Regions from separate parts of the Homo sapiens genome. Here all the other regions are linked to region 2. The links are contacts of gene promoters, found by promoter capture Hi-C in blood cells and fetal thymus (Javierre and others, 2016). All regions are on one chromosome and are shown on one strand. Each heading gives the region's core, a stretch centred on a gene start or on the middle of the fragment in contact. The rest is flanking DNA. Distances are from core to core; before and after follow the strand shown.

Region 1 (2,800 bases), core at 278-2,777, 6.1 Mb after region 2:
TAGGCTTAAGAGCCCAACAACTGATGTCCTATTGGGAAACGGACCTCTCATCTTTCATTGCTATAGTAGTTTCAGTAATTTCATTAACCATACTACAATCTCTGGCCAATCTGAGAACATAATTTTTTATTTCTTGGTAAATAAACTAACCCTTATAGGTACCGTAAAGAAGTGTGGACTGCTGAAAATAATTCATGAGAAATACAAGACCAACAAAAAAGTGGTGGATCCCATTGTATCAAATTTCCTTCAGTCTTTTGAAACAGCCATTGAACATAATAAAGAAGTGGAGCCTCTGCTGGGAAGGGCACAGGTGAGCCTGAGAATGCACGCCTGCCTTCCGCCTGCCTCCCGCCTGCCTCTTCCGCACGTCACATGCACACTCTCTCCCCCAACTCCGCCCCACCCCTAGACACCCACTTTCTTCCAAAATGAGAGGTCCAGTTAGGTTCGACAGCTCTCCGATAATTCCTTTTTTTTTTTTTTTTTTTGAGATGGAAGACAGAGTCTCGCTCTTTCACCCTGGCTGGAGTGAGTGGTGCAAATCTTGGTTCACTGCAACCTGTGCATCCCAGGTTAAAACGATTCTTCTGCTTCAGCCTCCCAAGTAGCTGGGATTACAGGCATGTGCCACCATGCCCACCTAATTTTTATATTTTTAGTAGAGACAGGGTTTCCCCATATTGGCCAGGCCAGTCTTGAACTCCTGACCACAGGTGATCCAGTCGCCTCAGCCTCCCAAAGTGCTAAGATTACAGGTATGAGCCACCACACCCGGCCAGCTCTCCAGTAATTCTTATTTGACCGTAACAGTGTTTATCTGGCACTAAGGCTAATGTGGACTGGCCTTGTAACACCAGTTGTTTTTGTTTTTGCTTTTGTTTTTAATTGAGATGGGGTCTTGCTGTGTTGCCCAGTCTGGTCTCAAACTCCTGAGCCCAAGAGATCCTCTCACCTCAGCCTTCCAAAGTGCTGGGATTACAGGCATAGGTCACCATTCCTGGCCCCTTGTTTGTGTTTTTACCTCAGTTCTTTTTTTTTATTATTATTTTATATATTTGTTTATTTATTTATTTTAATTTTTGAGGCAGGGTCTCTCTCTGTCTCCCAGGCTGGAGTGCAGTGGTATGATCGAGGCTCATTGCAGCCCCGACCTCCTAGGCTCAAGTGATCCTTGCATGTCAGCCTCCCAAGTAGCTGGGACTACAGGCACACACCACCACCCCCAGCAACAATTTTTTAATTTGTTGTAGAGACAAGGTCTTGCTATGTTGCCCAGGCTTTGAACTCCTGGGTTCAAGCAATCCTCCTGCGTCAGCCTCCAAAGTACTGGGATTACAGGTGTCAGCCACTGCATCCTGGCTTACCTTAGTTCTTTTTTAACAGTAACACTTTTTTTTTTTAGAGACAGAGTTGCTCAGTCACCCAGGCTGGAGTGCGGTTGCACGATCTAGGCTCACTGCAACCTCCACCTCCCACGTTCAAGTGATTCTTTTGCCTCAGCCTCCCGAGTTGCTGGGACTACAAGTGCCCGCCACCATGCCCGGCTAATTTTTGTACTTTTGTAGAGACAGGGTTTTACTATGTTGACCAGGCTGGTCTTGAACTCCTGACCTCAGGTGACCCACCCGCCTCAGCCCCTCTAAGTGCTGGGATTATAGACATGAGCCACCATGCCCAGCCAGTAACACTTTTTTTTTTTTTAGATGGAATTTCACTCTTACTGCTTAGGCTGGAGTGCAATGGCATGATATCGGCTCACGGCAACCTCTGCCTCCCAGGTTCAAGTGATTCTCCTGCCTCAGCCTCCCAAGTATCTGGGATTACAGGCGTGTGCCACCATGCCCAGCTAATTTTTGTATTTTTAGTAGAGACGAGGTTTCGCCATGTTTGTCAGGCTGGTCTCGAACTCCTGACCTCAGGTAATCTACCTACCTCGGCCTTCCAAAGTGCTGAGATTACAGGCATGAGCCACTACGCCCAGCCTCCAGCTACCAATATTTTATGGACCTTTTTTATGTCAATTGCTGTGTTTGTCTAGTATCTTTTTTTCCCCCCAATGGCTTGCTGCTTTTCCACATAGGGATATACCGTGATTTTATTTAGCCAATAAACTGTCAGGCTCTTTCCAACTTTTCACTGTTAAGAACAGCTTTTATTACCTTCCTATTCTGTCACACGGATAAAAAATAACAAAAAACAGCTTTTGTGAACATTCTTGTAGCTAAATCTTTGTGTTCATTTCTGAAGTTACACCCCTTGGAATAATGAGAAGTGGAATTTTTGGCTTGAAAAATTGGAATAAAAGACATACACAATTTTAAGGCTCTTGCAGCATAGCGTATCATCCATAGAAATCTCTGTTGTCACTTATCCTTAGTGACAGATAGGTTAGAAAACATAGTGAAGGAAAACCTTGCCCAAGCTATGGAAAACTAACATAGTATCTCCATTTCTGCCTTTCTTCGTTTCCATAGGAAAACTTGAATCCCTTAGTAGTTCTGAATTTATTTAAACGAATCCCAGCTGAAGATGTTCCTCTACTTCTGATGAACCCAGAAGCCGGAAAGCCGTCTGATTTGATTCTCACACGACTTTTGGTGCCTCCTTTGTGTATCAGACCCTCCGTTGTGAGTGATTTGAAGTCTGGCACCAATGAAGATGATCTGACAATGAAACTGACAGAAATCATTTTCCTAAACGATGTTATTAAAAAGGTCAGTGCCTCCCATTTCCTTGTAAGTTTCATAGTATATCTATCCAAAAACTTCTGGTCAAGAAAATGTGAGAAAAATCAAAC
Region 2 (4,786 bases), core at 328-2,827:
AGTGGGAAAATTTAAAAGAATCTACATAACTTTTGGGCAAAGGAATAGTGTCATCCAAAGAAGACATGAATAGCTCTTCAAGGTTATACTGCATTACAAAGCTAAAAGGTATTAAAAGAAGCCAACTATATGAATTTCAGCTAATCATACCAAATATTACTTTCCTTCAACATGAGATATAAAAATATTCTAAGTTAACCTATTCTATATGTCCTACTATAATGCGTAAAGGACATTTAGTCTTTCAAAGTAAACAAGTAAACTCAGTTACCAACCAGGTTTCCCTTACATTAGACTCCCTCGATGGTGTCTTCAAAAGAAAAGCATGCTAAAAACTGGATTATCTTAGCTCCAGGGCACATTATACTAGATGGGTGGTCAACCAGAAGTCAGCAGACAGTGTTTCTGTAATGCTAAGGTGAGGTGACTACAATAGGTCAGAATGAAATGACGAGTGTAAACCAACTGGGGCTACCAGCCCATCTCTGCCAATGATTTGTAGTGAATTCTAGGCAAGTGATATACTTCTGGGCCCATTTCCCCATCTGTAACATAAGGATTCCGTGTTCAGACTACAGCGTTGACCCTTAGACTACCTGCTTGAAAGTGCCCCGGATGCATCTTAAAATGTAGGCTCCTGGGTCTTTCTTTGCTCCTAATGATTCTACCCCTAGGAATAAGACCAAGAACGTGTGTTTTAACGAACACTCCAAAAGCTAAGAACTATTGCTTTAAGATACCCGAGCGTCCTCCGAGCTCTGCAACTGAACTATTAAGGGTCTTAAAATTCGGCACCCGGCCTTTGGGAAAACACCCAGCGCTTTTGGAACTTTCGTGCCATTACATCATCTCAACCTATGGCTGTCCTGTATCTTCCTCAGTACTCAGTCCACTGGTTGGGGCCGAAGAGGTCCAGCTCAGAGTGACCTCCATGTGGCGTAACAGCCCAGAGTGGGAATCCCGCTTCTGACAGGTTAGAAGTGACCTTGTGAGGAGTGTGGATCTCTAAGACTCAGATGTCGTTGCTATAAAATGGGGAAAATACTACCGACCCTAATCCAAGGGCTTATGCCTCCGTGAGCATTGATGAGTTTGGGTGCCTGGTCCCCGAGAAAGTTCACCCAGCCCGCTAGATTCAGATGAGAACCCGGCAGCAAACTTCCCTGTCAACCCACAACACCTCTGCCCCTGCCCCAGGTGCCGCTACCAGCGCAGCGGCTGTACGGCCTCGCCGCAAGGATGACTCAGCACCTTGTTGCCCGAGGACAGAAGCACAGCTACACTGAGCCCTTGCCCGCCTGACCAGGGCCTTGTGCCGCCGCCCTCTCCACCAGGTCACCCACAGGACTGCGACCCCAACGCGCAGGCCGGCCCTGACGCAGCCAGCAGCACCGCTGCTTCCAGCCCTTCCCCCCGCACCCAGCGGTCCCGTGAGGGCGGCTGTCAGGACCACCGGGGATCCCGGGCGCCCGCCGGCCAGCCGGAGCAGTACCTCGGTCCCCGGTCACCTTCGCCTCGCAGTTTCCCTTCCGGGCCCCTAGCGTCGGCCTCAAAGAGCACAGTTCCTCCGGCGCACTGCATGACGCAACATCGAAAGGACGTAAATAGTACGAGCAGCCAATCACGGGCAGGCCTCTGTCGGAAAAGCGGCCACACTGGGGGAGGCGGGGTTCCGGGTTGAGGAGGCGGGGTTCCAAATTGGTGGGGCGGGGCCAGTTGAGGATTGTTGCAGGGAACGTCATAGTCAGCGTCCATTTTGCGTGTGGGCATGGGAGTCGTCTCGGCCATCTTTGTTTTGGGCAGTGGAGCTCTGTTTTGCTTTTGTTTTAGTCGTTTCACTCGCCGCAGCTATAAGAATTATGTAAAAATTGAAAGAAAGTAATGTTAGAGTTAAAAATTATTCCGTTTATTCCGTTCCTTTTTGAAGGCCTTTTTGTCCCTTAATTTATCGTGAGATAAATATCTTTTCAAATGTGTCTGCTTCTGAGCCGAGTCATCCGGTTTCTGGGGTCTCATGCCAAATGTTAGATGGTGACATCCAGAAAAGATTTTTTCTAGATGGTTTTTTCATTGCTTTGTGACTTTCCCGCCCACATTTTCAAGTTTCACCCTAAACCTGTGTAATAGGCCTGATAACAGCCGCCTCTGCCTTGCACCCAGGATTGCTCTGAGGACTAAGATGTTTCCATTGCGCGTAATTTGATAGGTGAAGAGCTAGTTGTGGAATACGCGAGAGAGTTACTTTCTTTTTCACTCTCCCTCTATTTCAACAGATATTTACTGAATGCTCAACTTCGTACCAAGCTCTGTTCTAGAAATATATACAAATGAATCAGCCGGGCGTGGTGGCTCAAGCCTGTAATCCCAGTACTTTGGGAGGCCGCGGCGGGTGGATCACTTGAGGTTAGGAGTTCGAGACCAGCCTGGCCAACGTGGGGAAACCCTGTCTCTACTAAAAATACAAAAATTTGCCAGGCGTGATTGGTGCCTGTAATCTAAGCTACTTGGGAAGCTAAGGCAGGAGAATCACTTGAACCCAGGAGGCGGAGGTTCCAGTGAGCCCAGATCCCGCAACTGCACTCCAGCCTGGGCGATAGAGGGAGACTCAGTCTCAAAAAAAAAAGAAACCAAAAAAACAAAAACAAAAAAACAGCAAATGAATTAAACCCGTGTGTGCTACCACTATTTTAACAAAATAAAGTCCTTGCTCTGTGGCTTTACTTTCTGGTAGAGACAGAACATAGAAAAAATATAATGTGATAACTTAATACCATGAAGAAAGAGCAGATTAAAACCCTGAAAGGGTGATAAGGTGATTAACAACATGCAAAATTCATGAACCTTTATCTCCTAAGCAGTAGTTAATTGTGATTTATGATTCCTAATCATGTAAACCTTGACAAATATAAAGACTTGCCTTCTATGTGGATAATAAAAGAGTCTGGCAGCAACACAATTCTTATCTCTTTACGCTGAAAATGGCAGGAAAACACTAGAGAAATCTCACGAAACTGAACAGATCAAGCATGATCAGTTTAATTTTTATTTTGATCTATGCCCAATTTTATTAGCTAGCAAATAGGTTTTCTGTTTGGCTCCTTCAGTGATAGTCTTTTTTTCTAGAGCTTCTGTTATCAGCAAAGAGAAAGGATTTACAACACAGTACCAGAATAAAGATCTTGAAGTCAATGACTCAAGCTTTCTTCAAGATTCCTATTAAAGCTTATTCTCTCCATATTGGAAGAAAAATGTCTGATTTCATATTTTCCTTTCTCAAGTAAAGGGCTTGTATTGTTGTTTCCACAGGGGTCAAATATTTTGAAGCAGGGGAGGAATCTGGTCATATCATTGGGAAATATATGCTCTTGTGGCAGTGTAGGAAGGGAGAGGTTCCATGGACCAGGAGACCAATTAGGAATTTATTGTAGTTGTTCAACCAAAAGGCAATAAAGGCTGGAATTAAGCCAGTAGAAAGACACAGAGGGGTTTATGACAGAGATATATTGCTGAAGTGGAGTTTGCAGGATTGAATGGTCGGTCAAATATAGCTGATAAGAATGAGGAAGGCTCCCTGAGTAATCCTTCTGAACTGGGTGGATAATTTTATCATTAATTTAGCAATAGGATACAGGGAGAGATACAAGTGAGGGGAAGTAGATACATAAAACTTAGTTTGAAGTGTTTAATTGTTAAGTTCTCTGCTTCTAAGTTCTTAGAGTGTAGGATAGAGAAAAGGACAAGCCGGGAATGGTGGCACATGCATGTAGTCCCAGTTACTGGGGAGGTAGCCCAGGAGCTTAAGGCCGGCCTGGGCAACATAGGGTGATGCTGTCTTTAAAAATAAATAAGTAGGCTGTGTGTGGTGGCTCACGCCTGTAATCCCAGCACTTTGGGAGGCCGAGGCGGGTAGATCACAAGGTCAGGAGATTGAGACCATCCTGGCTAACATGGTGAAACCCCGTCTCTACTAAAAATACCAAAAAAAAAAAAAAAAAAAAAAAAAATTAGCAGAGCATGGCGGTGGGCACCTGTAGTCCCAGCTGCTCGGGAGGCTGAGGCAGGAGAATGGCATGAACCCAGGAGGTGGAGCTTGCAGTGAGCCGAGATCGTGCCACTGCATTCCAGCCTGGGCAACAGAGCGAGACTCCACTTCAAAAAAATAAAAAATAAAAAATAAAAGAATAAATAAGTAAATAAAAAGGAAAAGACATGATTCGTAAATTCCAATACTATATATATGTCACGGTTTTTATTACAGTCTGCTGATGAATTCCTTATTCTCCACTTGCTGGCTAAGTGAGATATGCTGCATTATAGTGGAGAAAACTCAGAGCCAGGACAAAAGATAAAATATTTTATTTACTTTCAGTTAAAATAAATGCTCTCACCTTGCCCTACTATGCTTTCCCATCAGAAGATGTGGTATGAATGAAACAGAGTTGGAAAGGGAGTTTGCTGGGGCTTTAACCTCTGCCCTCCCTGATGGAGTCTCCCAACAAAGGGAAGGTGCTTCTTCCTGAAAGGTTGCAGATGTTTCTGAATGTAGGGACCAATTGGCACCTGCTTCTCATGTGGTTGCTAAGTGGCAGACAACAGAGCAGGTAGGAAAGTTACAAGATCTTCCCCATCTTGGCCTTGTTTTCCCTTGGAATCCCTAAGGTCTAGATAAACACAAGAATGTGATTGTGAGCACGCACCTGCTTGTTTGCACCCTTCGAGATGCTGCTCAGTAGTGAGGCGACACTAGAAGTATGTGTGGGTGAGATGCCCAGATGGGCACCAACAG
Region 3 (4,878 bases), core at 1,712-4,211, 6.7 Mb before region 2:
ATTATTTTACCTGTTTCTTTTCCTTAAAGTCAACGATATGATTGATAGCAACAACTGAATAGCCAACTGAAAAAGAAAAATTGAACACTTTTGTTAAATATAACAACCTCTCCTTCCTGTAACACAGGTCCATCCTGAGTCTAGATGTCAAGAGTAGGAGGACATTTGAGGAGTGGTTATGAATGTGAACTCTAGTGTCAGTCTGCCTGATTTAAAGTCTATGCACTACCACTTACAAGTTACTTAACATGAAGTTTCAGGTTCCTCATCTGTCAAATGGTGAAAATAACAACACTTTCTTCATACACTGTCATGAAATTTAAATGAAATAATACACATGAGGTGTTTGAGAACAGTGCCTGGCACACAGGTCTTTGTTTAACCATTATGAATTATTATTAAAATGATACTAAAGACTCTTAACTTTGTGCTTCTCCTTTTCAAATGTCATTCTCTTTCATGACCCTATATTCATTTTTATCCCATCAAGTTCCTACTTTATCACTGTCACTTTTATTCCCGTTCATTTCTTTTGCTTTTTATCCTTCTACTTCCTTCAGAGACTCCTTTCCTAAGGAGAAATGGAGTGATAACTCCCTCACACCACTGCCCGCTTCCCATTTTAAGCTGCACACCATCGACAGACTGGGAGCTCCTTGAGGTCAAGGGCTTGCTTTATTATCCTCATCAGTTAGCACTGTTCTGGACATTTGGGCTACCAAAAAAAAATCTAAATCATGACTCCCATCTTTAATTTTTAAAAATACCAATGGGGATGAAAGGATATTAACATTAAAATACATATCAATGCCAAACTCTCAACAGTTTGTCCAACTTCCTTCTTCCCTTCCTCCCTCAAATATTTACTGAGCATCCATTACTTGACAAGCCCTAAACTGGTGTTGAGCATACAGGATAAATAATATAATCCTTCTCCACAAGAAATTTACAGCCTAGTCTGTTGGAGAACGAAGGCAAATAAGGCAATTAAGCAAGTCATTGTATATAAATACATGTTTTTTATAAGTAAGGATTCTATGGAAGTACATAGCACAGTGAAACCTGGTGTAGGGGTCACAAAAGGCTCCCTGAAGAAAGTTACCCTTAAAAACAAAAAAAAAATCACAAGTATGCCTGTACCTTGGGCTTCACCTTGCACCCAGTTAGTCAAATCAACCAGCCACACCTCCTCCCTATTCTTCTTTACCACACTCCCAAATCTGCTCTAAACTTCCTTGTTATACCCATTTAGGATATCCTTTTGGCTACTAAACAATGTCCCTACCGTTCTACAGAAATGTCAACTAGGATCTGTTTCTCCACAAAACTTTTTCCTAGACTACTCCTCATCTGGCAGCTTAGGAGTACTTACTTCCCCAATCAGGCTTTAGGGTATTTTAATTTACACAGTATATTTCTGAAGCTTATTATTGGTTTCTTGTATCACATCAGAAACTGAGAACCAGGGCTCTGTCTTTCCTATTCTTTGCAAATGTCCACTATTTAGTTCCAGACTCATCAAATAGCAGAGCAGTCCTTTGTCTTTGACTTGTAAGTTGAGGCAACTTTATATGCCATGAATTCCATTTAATTTACAAACAAATAACCACTAACAATGTACATATATTACCACACCTCTTCCAAGTGTATTTTAAACTGGGGGAAATTCTCTAAAGAAATCATTATTAACTTTTCTTTTTTGTATTAATTTTTTTAATGTGTTCAGTTTATTCCACAAGCATTAACTGAGTAACTGCCATGTACTGGTGCCTGCAGAGTGAACGTGTTAAGCACAGTAAATAAAAGGATAAGACATGGCAATTCTCTTAGGAAGCTCATGATTTATTCAAAAATGGGATGGCGTCAGGAAAAGCCTCATTGAGGAGGTAATAATTGCGACAAACTACACCTAGGAAAACTTATTTTACAGGATCAAAGAACATTAGCGCCAAATGGCCCAGATCATCATGTCTACTTTCGTCTTCGTGCTGATGAGCAAAGTACCACAGAGATAACGTTCATTTAGTGGCAGCAGTGGAAAGGGACAGTCATTTCGCCACGGATACTTCATAAAGAGAACAATAAAAAAGTGGTGTGATTCACTTTGCCAAGAAGTGGTTGTCATTTCTAGCACCACCTCTGAACAGTATCAGTAATCAGAACTCACAATGAGCTGAAAACTGTCTCTGAGGAGCAGATGTTACTACACGAACCTCTTGATTCTTTTTAATCTCTCTATTCCAACACTTTACAGTCTACGGAATACAGAACCCATGACTAACTCCAATAGTTAAAACAGGTTCTCGTCTCTCAAGGCTTTCGCTTCCCTTCGATTTGGGCCATGCTATCCTCCTCCTCCACCTCCACTCCGCTGTGTATGTCCTCTGCCCCCACCTACCCTCTCTCTGTCTAGATAGTATTGTTCCAACACTCCCACGTCCTCCTCCTTCTCCGAGCCTCCACGGCGCTTCCTGTCCGTGCCCCAAATTCCAGTATTTGTTTAGACACTGTCGTGAGAATCAGGAAGGGCTGATAGTAACTTAGAAGCTTAGAAGATTGTACCCTTGGAGTCCAGCTCCGGCTTCTGTCACCTATCAGCTGTAGGCCCCTATGCAAATCCCTCGCCCTCGTTAGGCCTCAGTTCCCTCATTGCAGGAAAGTAGCTGAACCAGATAACAACCCCCAGAACCTTCGAGTTTCCCGCGCTAGGAATCAGACCAACACCTCGGCGGGCATCAGCCTCCAGGGACATCCCAGAGACTCTGGGAGACCTGACCGAGACCCATCAGGAAATAGTTACTCCGGAGTGTGGCCCGATGGTCTGGGTGGCATGAGGTTGGCCAGGCGCGAAGCCGGGGCAACTCACGGTGAGCGGCTGTCTCCACAAGTCCGCGCAGAGCCTTCAGGTCAGAACCCGCTCGCAGGTCCAAATCTGCAAACACCGCCATGCTGAAGTCCCATGACCGTCCGCGCGCGCCAGTCTGCGCAGCCGCTGAGCCCGCCCCTCAGGCATGCTGGGAGCTGTAGTTAACCTGCGCAGTCCGTCTCTACCTCCAGTTGACTAGGGATTCGGAGAAACTTACTTGCTTTGCTTTCATCTACCACCAGAATTTGTGTGTTGAAATCAACAGCTTCATTTCAATCTCTCTTTGTCTTCTTCTGAACGACAATGTTTGGTTCCCCCTGGAGGGGTTCCAATTCCCAACTATTCAATACTCCTATAAAATAGTGTAGAAATGAATTCATTCAAAATGCACGCACACGGTATCTACTTAGTGCTGCTCATGAATCAGAGAATTCTGCTAATGGGTGAAAACGCTATTTAAAGAGTCTTAAAGAACACGTTTTCCTTTCCTTTCCCTAAAGTCCATTCCGTTGTTTACAATGGACTTACCGGGAAGAAGGCGTTTGTGTGTGACGGACTCTAGGACTTCAAAAGAGAACTACCCCAAGACGAGGGTCTTTTTACCCAATCAGAACTGTTGATGTCAAAGCCCGCTATTCTCTGTGGCAGTCAACATCTTCAACCACAAGATGGCGGGACTCGCTCTAGGACGAGCGGTTAGAGCCAACATTGATTTAGCCAAAGACATGTTTGAAAAGGGAGGTGCAAAATTGAGATGTTTTACACTTTTCCAGCTGAGAAATGTACAAGGTGACGCATATCCCACATATCTGATGTTTCCACTTTTTTCCGACTTAGTGTAAATGATCTATTGAGGATAATAATCAATTATACTACAAAAGTGTGACTATAGTTTACATCAGTGCTCTCAAACTACCTGTGATGAAGGATCAGTTTCTCCCTCCTTTTCCTCTACCCCCAAACTCTTCGCGAACCAGGATGTGGTCCTTTATGCATTACCAGTAAGCAGCCTGGCCTCATGGGAATCACAAATTTGACAACACTCGAACTGCCCTATACCTGGCTGAATAGAATCTGCTGATCAGGAGCTTGGATTATCAGGACAATGCCAAAGTACTGTAAACTTTCTAAACATCTTCACTTTTTGTTTGTTTGTTTGTTTTATTAACGTGCGCACAGCAACAACAATCACAGAATTAGAGGCTCGGTCATTTGACCTAGGGAGTATCCTAGTTGGTGGCCTGCTGAGTTTTCGTTTCGTTTTGTTTTGTTTTTAGAGAGAGTATCTCGTTATTGACCAGGATGGACTCTAACGCAAGCAATCCTCTCTCCTAGCTGTGATTACAGGAGCCCACCCACATGCTTCACCCATCAATTTCTCTTATTTACTGATCACAAACAGTTCACAGATAGTCTCTCGTCTATGGACCACACCTTAACTAGTACTCCTTTATGCGATTTTCTTGTCGGTCTCAGAAGGGAGGAAGGATCTGTTCCATGCAGTAGCATGCAATTCTCTTCTTGGTTAACTTTTGTAAAGAAGAGATATTTTGCCTTTTCCAGTACTTGATATTTCCTAAGTGGGAGTAGAAGAGAATATTACTTCTGCAAATAGAATAAGGTCATATGAAGCAAACGCTTTGTTTTTCATGAGAATATCTAGTGTTAATTTTGCAGGGTCACACAGGCATCATCACCTATGACCATAACAATCTAGATTGGTCAGAAATATGACCAATGTGTGGTGAAGGTGAATAAGGTGATAGTTCAATTATTTTTTCATTTTTAGTTGACACATTGTAATTATACATATTTATAGGGTACAATTTCATGTTCTGATACATGTATATGTTGTATAATGAACAAATCAAGGTAATTAGCATATTCATCACCTCATGCATTTTTGGTGATAACATTAAAAAAAACTCTTCTAGCTGTTTCGTGATATATAAACAATACCTTACTGTTAACCATAGTCACCTTGTGTGCAATACAACATCAGAACTTATTCC

The links. The method cuts DNA at HindIII sites, captures the fragments that hold promoters and counts their contacts. A CHiCAGO score of 5 or more calls a contact.
Region 1: a fragment that was not itself captured here is called in contact with the fragment with the promoter of GHITM in region 2 in 1 of 17 cell types (total B cells); the score reaches 5.5 in total B cells.
Region 3: the fragment with the promoter of RPP30 here is called in contact with the fragment with the promoter of GHITM in region 2 in 1 of 17 cell types (non-activated CD4 T cells); the score reaches 5.6 in non-activated CD4 T cells.

What each region holds. Positions count from the first base shown.
Region 1 is chr10:78,022,062-78,024,861 of GRCh38, reverse strand. It overlaps POLR3A (RNA polymerase III subunit A), which reads left to right. Exons shown (of 31, transcript NM_007055.4): 5 at 159-313; 6 at 2,478-2,717. Among named protein-coding and RNA genes, the nearest start is that of POLR3A, 6.1 kb to the left of the region's middle. RefSeq lists an enhancer at 1-69. The HindIII fragment of the contact is 7,786 bases long and covers 1-2,800 here.
Region 2 is chr10:84,136,300-84,141,085 of GRCh38, reverse strand. GHITM (growth hormone inducible transmembrane protein) reads right to left here and starts at 1,577. Exons shown (of 9, transcript NM_014394.3): 1 at 1,493-1,577. RefSeq lists a silencer at 1,297-1,496 and enhancers at 1,070-1,639, 1,640-2,209. The HindIII fragment of the contact is 9,095 bases long and covers 1-3,200 here.
Region 3 is chr10:90,870,057-90,874,934 of GRCh38, reverse strand. RPP30 (ribonuclease P/MRP subunit p30) reads right to left here and starts at 2,961. Exons shown (of 11, transcript NM_006413.5): 1 at 2,867-2,961; 2 at 11-66. The coding sequence starts at 2,948. RefSeq lists enhancers at 2,651-2,710, 2,841-3,110, 2,829-3,123. The HindIII fragment of the contact is 10,238 bases long and covers 2,550-4,878 here.